Linked DNA regions of Homo sapiens: region 1 is linked to region 2. Evidence: promoter capture Hi-C in 16 types of primary human blood cells and fetal thymus (Javierre and others, 2016). All regions are on one chromosome and are shown on one strand. The core of a region is centred on a gene start or on the middle of the fragment in contact, and the rest is flanking DNA. Distances in the headings are between cores, read along the strand shown.

What was found. Contacts are between HindIII fragments. The CHiCAGO score rates a contact against its expected background, and 5 or more counts as called.
Region 1: a fragment that was not itself captured here is called in contact with the fragment with the promoter of PRKDC in region 2 in 1 of 17 cell types (monocytes); the score reaches 5.1 in monocytes.

Annotation. Positions count from the first base shown.
Region 1 is chr8:47,350,841-47,353,613 of GRCh38, reverse strand. The region is part of intron 5 of SPIDR (scaffold protein involved in DNA repair); the gene reads right to left. Among named protein-coding and RNA genes, the nearest start is that of SPIDR, 91 kb to the right of the region's middle. RefSeq lists an enhancer at 1-740. The HindIII fragment of the contact is 2,242 bases long and covers 159-2,400 here.
Region 2 is chr8:47,958,761-47,961,460 of GRCh38, reverse strand. It overlaps PRKDC (protein kinase, DNA-activated, catalytic subunit), which reads left to right and starts at 1,325. Exons shown (of 86, transcript NM_006904.7): 1 at 1,325-1,488. The coding sequence starts at 1,335. It overlaps MCM4 (minichromosome maintenance complex component 4), which reads right to left and starts at 520. Exons shown (of 17, transcript NM_182746.3): 1 at 447-520; 2 at 247-330. The coding sequence starts at 316. RefSeq lists silencers at 87-486, 1,157-1,456, 1,467-1,516 and an enhancer at 1,697-1,856. The HindIII fragment of the contact is 8,899 bases long and covers 1-2,700 here.

The DNA of each region.
Region 1 (2,773 bases), core at 30-2,529, 610 kb after region 2:
GTAACATTTTTACCCTCATGCCATTTTGGTCACTTTCAATCTTCCCTTGAACAATTGCTCCAACCCTCTCCCCACCACACTAAACCTACGCTCTGGCCTCCTCCTGTGTTACAACTTCTCCAACACTGTACCTGGAAAATTCCAAAGCAACCTAAGCTTGCATATTAGGGAGGGACAGCAAGAAAAGCCAGAAACAATGTGTTGACTCACTTCCGTGGAAAGCCCTAGAGAAAAATCTAGGCCACAGTTCAGCACTCTCACGCGTTGCAGCTGGAGCAGGTAAGAGGCGGTGAAGTTATGTCATTCTCACACAGGTCCTGCTAATTCGGCCACAAGGGTAAGATGCAAATGAGAAGGTAAGTAAAATACAATCTGGCGTATATATAAGTATGCAGGCAGTCTACACACTTTCAGAAAAAATACGATTTTAATTATTTTGACTCCCACCATGTTTGATGCTATTTAGAACTTAACTTTTTGAATAAAAATTTAACAAAATTAAGTTGAACAAAATTGTATCATATTTGGAAAGAATAACTTTTTTTTTTTTTTTTTTTTTTTGAGATAGAGTCCCGCTCTGTCGCCTGGCTGGAGTGCAGTGGCATGATCTTGGCTCACTGCAACCTTTGCCTCCTGGGTTCAAGCAATTCTCCTGCCTCAGCCTCCCAAGTAGCTGGGACTACAAGTGCATGCCACCACGCCCAGCTAATTTTTGTATTTTTAGTAGAGATGGGGTTTCACCACGTTGGCCAGGATGGTCTCGATCTCTCAACCTCATCGACTCGGCCTACCAAAGCATTGAGATTACAGGCGTGAGCCACCACGCCTGGCAGAAAGAATAACTTTTCAAGTTACTTTACTTAGTTTTTGCCATCCTCCTTTTCCCCTACTTTAAATTTTGCGTCTCCCAGAATGCCATCCTTGTTATATAACATCATGATAGTTCATTCTCACCATTAGCAAAAGCAGTTCACAACCACCTCATACTCTGGGGAAAACCTACACAAGGCCTAAAGCGTTCAGAGTGAACAAGATCCAAACCACAAACATTTAGCAGTCTACGCTGGCAGAATCCACCACAATGAAAAATGTTTAGCCCTTCCTTTCACCCCTCAACATTGTAGTTTTCAGTCTTAATTTTTCACCACATTTACTGCTAGTGGCTAAAATAAATCAGATCTCTCATCCCATAGCAACACATATCCAATGTCTAGGCTAAGACACATAGACATATAAAGCCTTTAACTGTAATGTTTATATTTTACAGCCTAGACTCCAGATGAAAACAAGAAGTACACGGTCAAATTATTTTCTTTCTTTCTTTTTTTTTTTTTTGTTGAGATGGAGTCTGGCTCTGTCACCAGGCTGGAGTGTAGTAGCGCGATCTTGGCTCACTGCGACCTCCGCCTCCCGGGTTCAAGTGATTCTCCTGCCTCAGCCTCCCGAGTAGCTGGGATTACAGGCACGCACCATCACGCCCGGATAATTTTTGTATTTTTAGTAGAGACGGGGTTTCATCAAGTTGGCCAGGATAGTCTCGATCTCTTGACCTCGTGATCCACCTGTCTCGGCCTCCCAAAGTGCTGGGATTACAGGCGTGAGCCACTGCGCCCAGCCCAAATTATCCTCTAACACAGTAAAATGTTTAAAGGATCCTGAACATCTGTTCTTTCAAAATTATAATATACAGTTATCCCTCAGTAAGCATAGGGGATTGCTTCTAGGACCTGCTCACTCCGATGACAAGAAAATCCAAGGATGCTCAAGTTCCTGATCTAAAATGATGTAGTATTTGAATATAACATTATATACATCCTCCTGTATACTTTAATTCATCTCTAGACTAGTTATAATGCCTAACACAATGCCTACGTATCACTTCATTCAGTGTAGTACTCAATGTGGCAAAATCAAGTTTTGTTTTTTGGAACTTTGTAGAATTTGTCTTTCCAAATATTTTTGGTCCATGGTTGATTGAATCCACATATCCCATGGATATGGAGGGCTAACTGTACTTTAAAAGTTATGCTTTCAAAATTAAGACATCATTTTGTTTAACTTGTGTTCAAAAAGTTAAGTTCTAGGTATCATCTTCCCCACCCTATGGTCCCATACTCCAGCCTGCAATGAGTATTAAACACACCTGTTTCATCCCAGCTCTTTACCACATTTTCTACTTTAAATGTGGTAAATCCCACTCGGTCTTCAAAACCCAACTCAGTTTCCTTTCTGAACTCACCTACCTTCTTCACACTGCTTTTAAAACATGGGACCTCAAAATAATAATCAATTCTGAGAGGATATGTTTCAAGACCCCCAGTGGATGTCTGAAAACATGGATAGCACCAAACGCTATATTCACCATAGATTTTCCCATGAATACATGCCTATGATGAAGCTTAATTTATAAATCAGACACAGTAAAGAGATTAACAACATAATAATAGAACGATTGTAACAACATGCCAGCATTACTATTCTTGCATTTTGGGGTCACTATTAAGTAAAGTAAGAGTGACGTGAACACAGCACTGAGATGTTGTGATAGTCAATCTGATAACAGACCAGCTACGAAGAGACTAACAGGCAGGAGCATCTACAGGATGGACAGGTGGGACAAAACAGGGGATTCATGTCCCAGATGAGACAGAATGGGGTGACAAGAGATTTCATCATGCAGTTGAGAATGGTGTGGGTGTGCTCTAAAATTAATCACTCCTAGAATTTTCCATTTAATACTTTCAGATTATGGCTGATCACAAGTAACTAAGGC
Region 2 (2,700 bases), core at 76-2,575:
GGATTTGTCTTTTCCTTGGGGCATTATGACTCACCACTGAACCAAACCAAACAGAGGCAAATGGCAATCGAATTAAGCAGCACCCAGGCCACAGCCTGCTGTGGGTGTCTGTGCGCACCAAGCGGCAGCGCCCAGCCCGAGGCTGAGCGCCCGGGTCCCGCGCACCCACCCAGCGCTGCCAGCTGCGGCGAGAGGGCAGACGGGGCGGCGCCGGGGGCTGTAGTGGGCCCGGCTCGGGGGACTCACGCGTCTGGGCGGGGGTGGCCCTTCCACGCCGGCTGCCGCGGCGGCTCGGGGTCGACGCCGGGGACGACATAGTGCTCGGAGTACCTGCGCGACAAGGACAAGCTCGGGCCGGGCCCGCCTCCCGGCTTCCCTGCCCTGCTCCGCAGCGCGGACGTTCCCGTCGGCTCCGCGCCACGCCCTCCCCGCCGGCGCGCGGTTACCGTGGAAAGGCGGCCGCTTGCCGACGACGCTCGCGGACTCCGAGTCCACCTGGCGAGTAGCGCTCCCAAACCGCGAGACCCAGAGTTCCCGCCGGCGGCAAGGTCGTCTCCGCCCCTGGCGGGGCCTCACCAATCACAGCGGCGCTCGTACGTGGCTCCGCCTCCGGGAGGCGCCACTGCGCATCGGCAGGGGGGGACAGTGCCGCTTCTTTCAGCGCCCGTGCGTAAACCAGAAGTAGGCCTCGCTCGGCCCCCCTTGGTCCAGATGGTCTGACCCCCTGCGCGGCAGCGTTTTCGCGGGAAAACTGGGTCCTACAGCACCAGCTCTCGGGGTGTGTTCCTCTAGCGTTGGCTAGGGAGCGTGTGCTTCTTTATCCCTTAGGCGTTTTTGGTTAATAAGGACATTACAGATGCATTTCTCACTTAAAGATTTTTTTTATTAAAAAAAATTAAGGACGGGAGGTGGTGGGGATGGTCTCATTATGTTGCCCAGACTGGTCTCGAACTCCTGCGATCCCCCCGCCTCAGCTTCCTAAAGTGTTGGGACTGCAGGCGGGCATCACCGCCCCCGACCGCGTTTGTCGTTTTTTATCGAGGAACAAACTTGGAACTCTTGACCTAGGCCCCTCGCTTGTTTTATCTGCCTCTGGTATTTATTTAGCCAAGTCCAACACCAAGTAGCCACCCAAACTACCTCCGCAGGTCAGACGTTTTTCCTTAGGTTTCCATGTTGATTCGGGCCAAAGAGGCGCGCTTACTGGCCAGGCCTTCCCGCAGGGGTCCCCGGGAAAGTTCCTGCCGCCGCGCCCCGCAGCCCCGCCTCCGCGCGTAGGGGCATTTCCGGGTCCGGGCCGAGCGGGCGCACGCGCGGGAGCGGGACTCGGCGGCATGGCGGGCTCCGGAGCCGGTGTGCGTTGCTCCCTGCTGCGGCTGCAGGAGACCTTGTCCGCTGCGGACCGCTGCGGTGCTGCCCTGGCCGGTCATCAACTGATCCGCGGCCTGGGGCAGGAATGCGTCCTGAGCAGCAGCCCCGCGGTGCTGGGTGGGTACCGGCCCGAGCTGGGCCGCGGGTGGGTCCTGGCTTCCCGAGTCGTTCTGGAGCCGGGCAGCCCGGCGCTTCTCTGTGTTTAGATGACGGTATTTTGAAGTACAGCAATTAGATTCTTGGGGGAATTTCTGTGTATGTGTATAAAGGGATTTGTCATACTGCTTTTTACCCCCTAGTATTAGAGGAAAGATATTTTAAAGCCAAAGTTGGTGAAAACGACCCCTAATATGGCAATCATTGCTATGCAGAGTGGGGGGCAGGGCAAGAGAAATAATTTTTTTTTTTTTTGAGACGGAGTCTCGCTCTGTCGCCCAGGCTGGAGTGAAGTGGCGCGATCTCGGCTCACTGCAACCTCCGCCTCCCGGGTTCAAGCTATTCTCCTGCCTCAGCCCCCCGAGTAGCTGGGATTACAGGCGCGCGCCACCACGCCCGGCTAATTTTTTTGTATTTTTAGTAGAGATGGGGTTTCACCATGTTGGTCAGGCTGGTCTCGAACTCCTGACCTCGTGATCCCCCCGCCTCGGCCTCCCAAAGTGCTGGGATTACAGACGTGAGCCACCGGGCCCGGCCAAGAGAAAGTATTTTCTTTCACCTGAATCTCGCCTAATCCCACCAGTACCTTTTCCAAACCCCTCTATTTGCCGTTCCTACTTTGAGAAAAATTGAAGAAATGTAATTGAAGTCATGTTCTTTTAACTCTTTAGCAATGCCTGGGTGGGAACTTTTTCCCCTTTGTAGTAAAAGTGCCTCTTTTTAGCATTTTAAATATTCAAATACTTAATTATGTGGATCTCCTGTATTCCTTCTTTAAAACACGAGTATGCAGACCTTGATGTTGTGCCCTATTAAAAGGTGAGATTTTCTTCCGGAGGGTCTAGTAGTGAATATGGTGTAGGAATAACTTAAACAGTTTAAACTAGATGCTATATGTGGCACGGTGCGGTGGCTCATGCCTGTAATCCCAGCACTTTGGGAGGCTGTGGCAGCTGGATCACCTGAGGTCAGGAGATGGAGACCAACCTGACCAGTATGGTGAAACCTTGTCTCTACTAAAAATACAAAAATTAACTGGGCATGGTGGCGAGCGCCTGTAGTCCCAGCTATTCGGGAGGCTGAGACAGGAGAATGTCTTGAACCCAGGAGAAGGAGATTGCAGTGAGCCGAGATTGTGCCACTGCACTCCAGCCTGGGCAACAGAGCACGACT